Regions from separate parts of the Homo sapiens genome. Here region 1 is linked to region 2. The links are contacts of gene promoters, found by promoter capture Hi-C in human tissues and cell types (Jung and others, 2019). All regions are on one chromosome and are shown on one strand. The core of a region is centred on a gene start or on the middle of the fragment in contact, and the rest is flanking DNA. Distances in the headings are between cores, read along the strand shown. Region 1 overlaps LOC105372773 (a long non-coding RNA gene). Region 2 holds the start of KRTAP19-6 (keratin associated protein 19-6).

The links. The method cuts DNA at HindIII sites, captures the fragments that hold promoters and counts their contacts. A contact is called where the count stands out against the background at its distance.
Region 1: a contact is called between a fragment that was not itself captured here and the fragment with the promoter of KRTAP19-6 in region 2, in 1 of the 25 tissues and cell types used here (hippocampus).

Annotation. Positions count from the first base shown.
Region 1 is chr21:30,718,749-30,725,309 of GRCh38, forward strand. LOC105372773 (a long non-coding RNA gene) reads right to left here. Exons shown (of 3, transcript XR_937655.3): 2 at 3,352-3,528. KRTAP21-3 (keratin associated protein 21-3) reads right to left here and starts at 29. Exons shown (of 1, transcript NM_001164435.1): 1 at 1-29. The coding sequence starts at 11. The HindIII fragment of the contact is 4,254 bases long and covers 1,206-5,459 here.
Region 2 is chr21:30,538,165-30,544,610 of GRCh38, forward strand. KRTAP19-6 (keratin associated protein 19-6) reads right to left here and starts at 3,700. Exons shown (of 1, transcript NM_181612.3): 1 at 3,371-3,700. The coding sequence starts at 3,669. The coding sequence ends at 3,493. The HindIII fragment of the contact is 7,735 bases long and covers 1-4,910 here.

The DNA of each region.
Region 1 (6,561 bases), core at 2,083-4,582, 180 kb after region 2:
TTGAAATACATAGTGTCAGGAGATGAGAATTCAGCCAGGTAACAGCATTTCTGGAGTTTGGAACCCTTGGGATCTTTCTATATAATAAGAGGTCTGCAAAGTGTGTGCCATCCCTACTTTGCCTTCTCATTCCCACAAGAATTTATATTTAACAAGCTTGTTGTTGTTTTATTCTGTGTCCTAAGAAAGCCTCTCATTTTAGACCTTCATTTAATTCCTGCAAGTTAATCATAGACTGTAAAAAGTAATTTGTACACTCTGTATACATGTTCTCAGTGAGCCCCAAATGTACACTCCACAAATATCATGATGCTAAATCTTGCAGGGAAGTACTTCCCTCAGCTCTAACCCAAAACATTGAGAATCCCCATCCCCAGCCTCCTAGAGAAAGGAAGGGGCTTAGTGATTCCTACCTTTTCAGGTGCCACCAGTATTACCATCCAATCCACAACTGTACTACTCAGGAGAGGATAGGCATAGGAAGGCTAAATTGAGAAACATGCGTTCAATTCTATAATATTAGAATTTATTGAGAACTTTCCTAAAAAACAGAACATGACAGTAGGCACTGCTGAAAATAACATAAAAATAAAAATGAAAAACATAAATAAGACCAAGAACAGACCTTCAATGAACTCCCAGCTTAGTAAGGAAGAGAAACATTTACACAAAAAAAGTCTCAGATTGATGCGGTTAGAGAAAAAGGAAAGAGAAATCCTATGAAATAGACCTCAAAACAATCCAGACCAGGTCCACTTAGGGCCTTCATCCATGCTGGGCTTTCACCTGCAGTTTTTACAATTTAACACCCATATCTATGACTCATTCCCTCATTGCCATCAGAGTGTGTTCAAATGTCACTCAAGGAGGCCCTCCCTGAACAGTATTATTTATAGCTAGCACCCTCCCACAGATATATCTTTATTCTCTACTTAGCATTTATCAAGCCATTTATCACCATATGATAGACTTGCATTTTACTAATTTTGTTGACTGTTTTTCTCACTGGAATATAGGATATCTGTGAAGGCAGGAATTTCTTTTTTTCTTTAGGGAATAAAATAGATTTTAAAAAAGTATAATAAACTGGGGCCAAATAATAAAGAGCTTTGAATATTAAGGTAAAAAGTGTGGAATTCATTCTAAAGGTAATGGAGAACCAGAGAAGATTTTGAGCAAATTAATGGCATAATCAGCTCAATATTTTGAGATACAGAAATCACAACCATTTATCCAGTGTACTTAGTAATGTCCTATTTCTTCGAAACCATTATTTGCTAAATTATTCTCTTGAGCAAAGATCTTTCCTTGAGCACTAGCCATGGTTGCATTGAATTTGTGGCATTTTATTTTCCAATTATGTTTCCAGGAACACTAGGACTGGGAGGTATTAAAATGTATTCCAAGAAATAGAGTTTCCAAGATTTTAAAATGTGCTATCAAACACTATAAAATAAAAACACCTTCAGAGTATTCACAATTTACATATGCGCTGTAAGTTTTACTTGCACCTAAATGCCAGGTATTGTAGTAGGAGTACAAACTGGAACGCCATGATAGCATTTTAATTATCCTTAGGAGGACAACTGTGTAAAGAAAACCAGCTTGACATTCTTCAATAAACTAACATATTTGTGTAACAAAATAACTTTTTAAGTTGAGAAATAACTTTTAAGTTCTTTTGAAAGTTATCGTCTTAGAGTATATGTTCAAATATGAAAATCTTATGAGTGTTCAAGTTTCCAAATCACTAAAGAGACTGTTGGCGTTTTTATACAGCACAAGCAAATAGGCCACATTAAGTCAAACAGGTCATCTTTTTTTTTTTTTTTTTTTTTTTTTTGAGACGGAGTCTCGCTCTGTCGCCCAGGCCGGACTGCGGACTGCAGTGGCGCAATCTCGGCTCACTGCAAGCTCCGCTTCCCGGGTTCACGCCATTCTCCTGCCTCAGCCTCCCCAGTAGCTGGGACTACAGGCGCCTGCCACCGCGCCCGGCTAATTTTTTGTATTTTTAGTAGAGACGGGGTTTCACCTTGTTAGCCAGGATGGTCTCGAAGGTCATCTTTTAAAATAACCATTGGGTAAGCAGTTTTGCCTAGATTAAACTGAATATTTTGAAAATAAACCTTTGATGGGACTCAATTACAAAATTAGTCTCAACTCAACCTAAATATGGTATTTTCTTGCCCATGAGAGTTGAAAATCTATATTTAAGATGCTCAGTGAGGATTGAATCTTAGACAATCTGAAAAAAGCTTCTAAAATTTGGTACCTGAGCACAGTGGCTCACACCTGTAACTTCACCACTTTGGGAGGCTAAGGCAGGAGGATTACTTAAGGGCATGAGTTCCAGACTAGCCTGGGCAACATAATGAGACCCTGTCTCTACAAAATAAAATAAAATAAATTAGCAGAATGTGGTGGCACATGCCTATAGTCCCAGCTACTCAGGAGGCTGAGGTGGGAGGATCCCTTAAGCCCAGGAATTTGAGGCTGCAGTGACCTATGATCAGACCACTGCACTCTAGCCTGGGTGACAGAGTGAGATCATCTTTCTAAAAAAAATGTTTTTAATTGATACTTTATTTGAACCATCTTTTGCTGCAAATTATCCGTATTATGATGTATCATGTGTTTCTTTGCATATATGTCTCATGTTACCTATTTTAATATATGCAGTCTCTTTAAAAGTGAGAACCTTGTTATTATTTTTATTTTTTGTTTTATATTTTGCTCTGTACATTCTATACCCCTGCAAGCATCTTACTTTGTACAGGGAAATTAGAACTGCAATATGTATTTTATTGTGGATTTTTTTTTCTATCATTTCATACACTTAAGTATCTGTTCCTTTTCAGACTTTTGACTTTCATGTGACTGTAAGGAATTGTGGTTGCTATTTTTCTCTTGACCCAAAAATGCTGAGTTGCTCTGAAAAGTATTTCCTAACCATATAAGAATTCATTCGTATTCTGAAAATTTGTTTCTGCTTAATTTCCCGATTATTGATGACATATTATGTAATTATTTTCAGCTTTTCATTAGTAAAAATTCACCACATTAAGTCAAATGCAAAATTTATTGCAAATTTATTCATCTTTCCCATATTTTCCCTTTCATTTTCTCAGCTAAGGTCTCATGTTAATAGCAGTGATGACCCTGTGCCACTTTAAGTAAAATTCGGAATTTGTATACCCCTAGCCTTCATTTGTAAAGTATACAACTATGTCTTTGACCATAATAGCCCTCTCTGTAAAATCACCAATAAATTTCCAAAATATGTGATGGTAAAATTAAGTTTCATATTCTTCCCCCAGCTATTTTCTACTTCTTACCAAATATACTACTGACCTTTTAGGCCCATTTTTCTTTCTTGAATCAATGGTGTTATTTCTCTACCTGGAACATCATCAAATCTGAAAATTTCCATTCCCACCTCTGAAAGTGGCTTAACTCCTATGTTCTCCATCCTCATGAAGATTTCTCTACGTCAGGGGAAAGAAAATGTGAATGTTCACATTCATTTGCCTGCAAATTTTTTTAAATAGAAAGAAGAAAATAAGCAATTTATTATTCTACTAGATATTTTATAATTCACTTTGTTAGATTTAATTTATCTCATTCTCCAAAATATTCATGTAAAAATTAAATACGGTGATAATATTAATAGAAATACCTTTAGTTCAAAGTCAGCATCCATTTAATGTTCACATTTAAATGCATATATAATTTATAAGAGTAGATTATATGCAAAAAATATTTAATCATTATAGATTTATGTAAAAATATATGTTTAATTTTGAAAAAAAGATTGTATTGAAAATAAGTCATATTTCTGTTGTGTTTTCCCTTCAGTCTCAGAAGATGAGGTATTTTTTTCTTCCTTCAAATTATTAGCTCTCCACCAACGTGGTATCCTAACTTGTTTCTACTTTTATTGCTCTATGGCTCTATCTTCATCAGTCTCTTCAAATCTACTCCCTTCTTCTGCCTACTCTTCCCTAAGAGATTTTTAATGTTTTCTTTTGCCAATGCCAGTCACATTTCTTCTCCATGGTTATCGTTGACCTCTGCTGCCACAAGGTATCATTTCCTCTACTTCCAACCCTTTTCAACACCATCCTCATTCTCTTTTTACAACTGTACCTTTCATGTGTTTTCTTCATTTATTCCTCTGACTCTACCCAAACTCTAACTAAGGAGCCCTTCCTAGATTCAATTCCTTGACTTTCTCTCTCTAAATTCTCTTATTAATTTCCCATTTGTACTCCCACTACAATGTCTGACTTACAGAAAGTGATCCATTAAAACTTAAGGAATAAATGTGTGTGAGTAAATATTTTCTCTCACATTTACAGCTTTAAATAAAAAATTAATATCAGTTACTTTCAAATTGATATGTCGTGTACTCTCCTTAAATATACAAATCTTAGCTAGATAATTTTTTTGAATGTATTATTACCTCAAATCAACATATCCAAAACCAGATACATCTCTCTGGCAAAACTAAATTTTAAAAATATTTCTCCCTGTTAATAACATTTCCTTTCTTGATGAATACCCACATTCAAAAGTACCACATTTATGCATTTGTTTATGTCACTGAAACAAATCATTTTCCATACAAAATTTTGGTATCTATTTTCTTACTCTTACTGCAACAGGCTTAATTCTGGTCCTAATCTTCTCACTCTTGGACCCCCCCACCCCAATAAGTCCTTAGCTCCAGGAACTCAATGCATCTTTCGTTTCCACACTGTCCAACCTATTCTGCACATTGTTTCTAAATTTATATTTCCTACATATTACTTTTATCATGCATTTCTTCTGCTTAATATTCTGAATCTCCTACTGTGCTAATTCTATATCCTCTGCCTGGGCTCACAGATCTCTCATAATATACCTCTTCCCCTAACCATTCCAAATCTGTTTACCACTCTAAGTCATGGTAATCATCACATTATTTGTTAAATACATTCATGTGCAAGACACCAACCATTTCCCCTAAACAGCCGATTTAATGCCCATTCTGCCTCTGTCCCCAGTGACTCTCCCACCTTGAATTTCTGATTTTCTAATCTATTAATGCAGTTCTTCCAAGCCCAGTTCATTTCCCCTTCGACAGAAGCTTTCTGCAGTTCCCGGAGTCCTCATTATCTTCCTTTCCTATGAACTCCTGCCAGTCTTTTCATCTGTGACACATAAGCTGTTATATCTCAAGTTTTGTTCTTTTCTACAAATAGGTATGTTAGTCTTGATCTTCCAAATGGATGGTTAGTTCTTTGATCTCAGCAACTATTCTCATCTACACAACACTATCATGGTGCTGACCAAACACATATTAAGTGCTCGATAAATCCCTGTTGATCACCTACTGAACCCAGGTGAAAAAATATATTTTCCATTAATTCATTTGCTCCACTGCAATTTTTAAGAGTTAGAGTTTCTAAAAGTGGAGTGTATGGATCAGCAGTTATCAGCATCACTTGGGAATTTGTTAAAATTGCAGATTTTGAGGTTCTACCCAAAACCTACTAAATCAGAAGGTCTAGGAGTAGGACCCAAAAACTCTATGTTTTTCAAGCACTCTGGTTAATTTAATACACACTATCATTTCAGAACCACTGCCATAGATCAATCGTCTTGTCCTCATAACAAGGTCTCTAGATAAAATAGCAGTGGCCAACACAAAAGGTTAATGGCTTACTGAGCTTTTATTTTTGAGGACATTCTGACCTGTTTAAAACCAGACAAGTGGTGATTAGCAGTGTACTTTCTGTGATTCACAAAGCTTAGACAATAATGGAAACAGGCTATTTGAGCAATCAGTTATCTAAATGAATCTAAAAGGTTTTGCTGTGAAGGTTAATATTCCATGTTTTATCTAACATTTGCCTTGTACCCTCCGCCAAAATTGGTTTAATGTGCAGTTCTGAAACTGGAATCTAAAGTGCAGAGGTTATTGTGGAAAGCTCAATCATCTAGCTGCTACATAAGTCTGAATATTTGTAAAGGTTTTAGAACCCAAATGTTAGATTTTAAGTTTATCATCCACCATCTTTTATGCATATCTTACCAGCTCTGAATAGGGGTGAGATAAGGAACAGAGATCACAGACTCGAGCTGAGGACCCTAGAGAGACTATCTCATGCTCAGGTTTAAGAGAAATTCAGGGGACTCAATGTTGATCTGTATTCTGTTCAGGGGACAAAGTTACCCAAAGGGAAGCCATAAACCCCAGGGCCTTAGCAGTTAATCTCACTTCCACCTAGTTCAATGGTGTGTTACGGTCCTCCCAAGAAAAAATAACAGTAGGATGTGTGTGTCTACATGTAAGTATGTGTATACACATACCTACAGGATGCATGAAGGAAATACATACATACACACACACACACACACACACACAGAGAGAGAGAGAGAAGGAAGAGGTGGAAGAGTGAGGGAGAGAGAGGCAAAGAGGAATGAGAGAGAGAGGAGAGAAAGGGAAAGAGAGGGAGGAGAGAGAAAAAAGAGGGAGAGTGAGGGGGAGAGAGAAAGAGGAGAGTAGAGAGGGAGAGA
Region 2 (6,446 bases), core at 2,450-4,949:
AACCTGGGAGGCAGAGCTTGCAGTGAGCCAAGATCGCGCCACTGCACTCTAGCCTGGGCGACAGAGTGAGACTCTGTCTCAAAAAAAAAAGAAATTGTATTATTTTTGCTCACAATACACTTAATTTATTAACATCTTCTCAAAGAATTAAATTTAGCATTAAATTTCCATATTTAATTGACTCATATCAGGGATATATGAGTTTCACAAAATTCCTCTTTTTGACACTGACCCTGAGTTTTCAAAATTATCTGCAAAGAAAAATAATTTTTTTTCTAACACAAGACTCTTTTTCTGATTCCTTAGAAAAATGTAACTGGAATGGTATGTTATTTTATCCTTGTGTGTTACTTGTCTGTGACCTATTGGATGTTTTAAGTGAAAGCAAATATAAATCAATGAAAAGGATTCAGTGTCACTAAGAATAGGTAGATTTTCTTTGCAGGTTTTCTACAGATGGAACCCCAGCTCTACGAGTCGTTTTATAAAAACATGTATATCATCCTTTGTCTTATCAACAAGCCTCTGAGTTTTTGCTGGAAAACATGATTTCCTTCATTTTAAAAATATGCTTTTCATCTATAGAATAAAAATAGAATTTGGAAGTAGAATTATGAAAGTTCATAATAGATTATAAAAGGCCAAGAGATTTTTTAAGGTTATATTAGCAAATAACTGAGGCTTTTGACTTATATAGCTTTGCAGTTAATTAAGTGTGTCTAGAGAGAATCTATCAAAAGTGAATTTTTATGAAACAGAAATATAATAGTTAAAATATTTTTGTTTGTAAAAATGGTTTGAAAATCAATTTGTCAGTGTTTTTCCCATTTTCAGCTTGTACTTTAACTTTGTCATTGAAGGTCCCAATCAGTCCTAATCAATAACTTCCTTGAATCCCAATATTCTATTATGTTATTGATGTTTTCTTTTTCTTTTAACAAATATTCATTGAACACCTGCTGTGTGTTTGGCATCATATTAATGCAAGGGATACCTAAAGATCCTGACTGCAAAACCCATACAATCGCATACAAAAACTAATAATCATATTACAATCTATAATCATTAACTAAAATGGGCACTAATAAGTCTGTTTTTTATTTCCCCAGTCTAGAAAATAAAGTTGGGATGACTCGCTGTTGTTCCAAACTAATTTTCTCAATAAGAAATTTCCATGTTATTTCACAATAATTTGACACACTTAACTATTGATTAAAAAAGTACATACATTCTTCAATATCTAAAGGGTTAGAGAATATGCTGTTTATTTTATAATATTTTATTCAAGGTGATTTCTCTACCTTTGTACTTGAAAGAAAATAGGCAGCAGTAGCATAAAGCCTGGTTGATGAATGAGAAATTTACTTGCCAGTTTTATTTTCAATCCTATAAATTAACTTTTTAAGACTACATAATTTGCAATTTTGCTTGCAACTCAATTATTTTAGCAAGCGTGTATATGTTAAATTAAGTATCAGAGAGTATATTTTAAATGTTTTCACCACCCTAAAAAATAACTATGTTAGATAGTAGATTTGTGAGTTAGCTTGGTGTAATCATTCCGCAATGTAAACATATAACAAAATATAACACTGTGCCCTCATAAACATATAAAGCTATTTGTCAATTAAAAATAAAACTTTAAAAATAAGTTTAGAAAGAATAATTAGCATTAGGCAGATGCTTCCAAAATGCTGTCAAATGACCATACCTATAGGCAAAAAAGGCAGTTAAACAACAACAAAAAATAATAACATATAAACAGAACAGTACCATTCCCATCATTATTAATCGCTTATTTGAAATAAACATAACATGAACTCTCTAGAGGAACATGGTACTATTTTAGTTTATTATTTTGTATTTAGATGTTATTTTTACATCAAATCTCCTCCAAATCATCTTCCAGGTTTATAACGTCTTGTGCTAACTCTTACATGACATAGAGTGGAAAGTACCTGAAAGCTACTACAAAAACATTGTTCACTGGCAAGATGGTAGGAGTAGAAATGTATGTCAAGAATTACTGAAATTTAAGAAATTTAAGAGACCTTAAGTACTATCTAGAATAGTTATTTTCAAGGAAATTTTGACGAGTAGTCAGCAGACCAATAGCAAAACTAATGAAAACTAATTATCTAAGTTATCCTCCAGAAAATTAAAAATTAAATTGGTAAAAATGTTGTCATGGGGTTTTTCTTTTCTTTTTTTTTCTTTTCTTTTCTTTTCTTTTTTCTTTTTTTAAACAGAGTTTCATTCTGTCACCCAAGCTGGAGTGTAGTGACATAATCTCGGCCCACTACAACTTCTGCCTCCCAGGTTCAAGCGATTCTCCCACCTCAGCCTCCCAAGTAGCTGGGACCACAGGCACGTGCCACCACACCCAGCCAATTTTTGTTTTTTTAGTAGAGACGGGGTTTCACCATGTTGACCAGGCTGGTCTCGAACTCCTGACCCTGGGTGATCCACCCGCCTCGGCCTCCCAAAGTGCTGGGGTTACAAGCATGAGCCAGCGTGCCCGGCCTCTCTCGGTGTTTTTAATTCAGACATCCCTCAGGTTTACTTTTGAGAAATAATATCTTTTGGGAAGCAAGGCTTGAACTCTACAGGTAGGAACACAGAAAGACAAGTAATTTAACTTGTCAAGGAGGTAGAGTAGATTCTCATATGTTCAATAGTTTAAAATTGATTATACATAAAGGACATTATACATTTGATAAGTCAGTGTTGGGTACATGCGAGCTTTGATAGCATTCTTTAGACCTTACGTATTATTACAAATATTATTTATATTAACTCAATGTTTTATTTAAAATTCGCTTTCATTGATTAACATAGAATTACTGTGCTTTGAGATAAACCTCAGAATACAAACACACTAATTGGAATGAAGATTGCAATAAGTTATTGTTTAAAACTAAGTCATAAAAATAATAGTGTACATAATCATATTCTAAAAACAAAATCACACACAAAACCACTGAAAACAGATAAAAAGTAAAGACAGATGAAAGTACACAGTGATTTTGTCCATCTTATTCTTTTATATCTTCAGGACTTAGAATGGTGCCCAAATTTGGAGACACACAATGAATATATGTTGAATAAAATATATTATTGAGGCAAAACTGTTGAAATAAAAACACCAATTCAGAGGAAAGAAGACAAACAGCTTGATTGAAGTCTCATCAATGCATTTGAAATGTACTAAAATGAATTGATAAAGCCATGTTTGCTATTCAAGTTAAACGTGTTTATTTAAAACTATTTTAAAATACATGTCACAACAGATGTCAGTGACTAAATAATAATAGGTGAAACCCTGATTCAATGTAATGATTCCAGATTCTTCCATAAAAACTGATGGCTAGTTCCTTCTGGAGCATGAAGCCAAAAAATGGTAGGTATTTTCTCTACATTGAGAAAAGTGTTCGCCTTGCTGAAGCATACGGGCAAGATCTTGGAGTTAGAGTATGAGAATCAGCAAGTTTTTTAGTAGAATCCAGAGAATCCATATCCTTCACGGCATGATGGGCGGCAGCAGCCATATCTATAGCCTCCATAGCCAGAGCCATATCTGTAGCCTCCACAGCCACAGCCATAGCCCAGACCACCAAAGCCTCCACAGCCATATCCCAGGCCTCTGTAGTAGCTGCCATAGTATCTCATGGTGTCAGGGACTAGAGATTCAGTTCAATGCTAATGATGAGTTTCCTGAGTGTAGGTGTCTCTAACTTCTCAGAATGATTTTATACTCTAAGTAGTGGGTGTCATGAACAACAATGACAGGTGATCTTATTTCCACATAACAGAATAATTTTAAGTCTAACAATTGTTTATTTTTTTTCTTTTCTTATGTAACAAAGGGTCCAAACTATTATTTAAAGACTTTTAGTCTTTAGTTTGCATTCCTAAGAACAAAATATTTTGAAGATGAAAAATGATTATAGCCACTTCAAAGGCCAGGCTGGTGTTGTAATTAAAATGGTCTAATCGGGTTGATAGCTTCCAGTAACGCTGTAATTACATAACCTCATATTGCTTTTCTTTTTAATTTGCAGTCCATCGTCTTGGTTACTTCATTCCCAGAACCCAAGGACTTCTCTTCATGGTAGTCAGGGCATAGTCACAAAGTCATTAGTGATTTCCAGTAGTCAAATTTAGAGGAAACCTTGGTTTTTGACTCATTTGAACTTTAATTGACCTTTGACATTGCTAACCTTCCATCCATTCATTCTTTTGTAAAGCTTTCTTGCCTTAATTTCTATGAGAAACCTTCAATTAGCTTCCTCTGCCAATTTTTTGTTAGGCTTCTTCCCAATTTTTTATTCATCCATTAACTTCAAAAGTGTACCTTTTCCTCTGCATACACTTTTCCCATGAAGTTCCATTAAATATTATTTTTCTTTTTTCAAATTTTATTTTTAAGAATACATAGTAGAGTATATATATCTATGGGGTATATGAAATACTTTTATACAGACATGACAATGCATACTAATCACTGGTTAATGGAGTAATAATCACTGGTAAATGATAAATAGGGTATCCATCCCCTCAAGCATTTATCCTTTGTGTTAAAGCAATTCAATTACACTCTCTTATTTTAAAATGTTCGATTAAATCAATAATTTAATTTAAATGCAATTTAATTATACATTTTAAAATAACTAAGAGAGTATAACTTAGTATGGCCACACTTTTGTGCTATCAAATACTAGGTCTTATTCATCATTTCTATTCCTTTGTACCCATTAACCACCCCTACTCCTCCATCACTCACATCCCTCCCCACCCCTACCCTGCACCCACCTACTCCCCTTTCCATTCTCTGTTAACCATCCTTCTAGTCTCTATCTCCATGAGTTCAATTGTTTTCAATTTTTAGCTCCCACAAATAAGTGAGAACATACAAAGTTTGTTTTTCTGTGCCTGACTTATTTCACTTAGCATAATGACGACCAGTTCCATCCATTCTGTTGCAAATGACAGGATCTCATTATTTTTTATGGTTGACTAGTACTCCATTGTGTATACATACCACATTTTCTTTATCCATTCATCTGTTGGTGGAAAATTAGGTTGCTTCCAAATCTTTGCTATTATGAACAGTGCTGCAACAAACATGGGAGTGCACATATCTCTTTGATATACTGTTTTCCCTTCCTTTGGATGTATACCAGGCCTCCATAGTAGCTGCTGTAGTAGCTCATGGTGTCAGGGACTAGAGATTAGGTTTGATGCTAAAGATGAGTTTAGCACCAGCAGTGGGATTTCTGTGTCATATGGTAGCTTCATTCTTTGTTTTTTGAGAAACCTCCAAACTGTTCTCCATAGTGGTTGTACTAATTTCCATCCCCACTAATAGCGAATGAGGATTCCAAAACATCTATTTGGTTCTTTTGTCCATTTCTAATCAGATTATTAGATTTTTTTTTTCCGTACAGATTTGTTTGAGCTCCTTATATATTCTGGTTATTAATCCCTTGTCAGATGCATAGTTTACAAATATTTTCTTCCATTCTGTGGGTTGTCTCTTCATTTTGTTGATTGCTTCCTTTGCTGTGCAGAAGCTTTTTAACGTGATGTAATCCTATGTGTCCATTTTTGCTTTGGTGGCCTGTGCTTGTGGAATCTTACTCAAGGAATTTTTGCTGAGACCAATGCCCTAGAGAGTTTCCCCAATGTTTTCTTATAGCAGTTTCATAGTTTACTTTTATTTAAGTCTTTAATTCATTTTGATTTGATTTTTGTATATGGGGAGAGATAGGGGACTAGTTTCATTCTTCTGCACATGAATGTACAGTTTTCCCAGCACTATTTATTGAAGAGACTGTCTTTTCCCATGTGTATGTTTTTGGCACTTTTGTCAAAAATGAGTAGGTGTCTGAACTTGTTTTTGGGTTCTCTCTTCTGTTCCGTTGGTCTATGTGTCTGTTTTTATTACAGTACCGTGCTGTTACTGGTTACTATCGCTCTGTAATATAATTTGAAGGTAATGTGATCCTTCGTTTTGTTCTTTTTCCTCAAGATAACTTTGGTTGTTCTGTGTCTTCTTTGGCTCCTTAAAAATTTTAGAATTTTTTTTTCTATTTCTGTTAAGAGTGTCTTTGGTATTTTAATAAGATTGCATTGAATCTTTAGAGCACTTTGGGTAGTATGAACATTTTAACAATATTGATCCAATCCATGAACATGGAATATTTTTTCCATTTTTTGTGTCCTCTTAATTTTTTCATCAGCATTTTATAGTTTCATTGTAGACGTTTTTTACTTATTTGGTTGCACTAATTTCTAAGTGTTTAAATTTACATGTCACTATTGTAAAAGGGATTACTTTTTAAATTTCTTTTTCACATTGTTCACTGTTGGCATATAGAAATGCTACTGATTTGTGTATGTTGATTTTATATCCTGCAAATTTACTGAATTGTTTATCAGTTCTA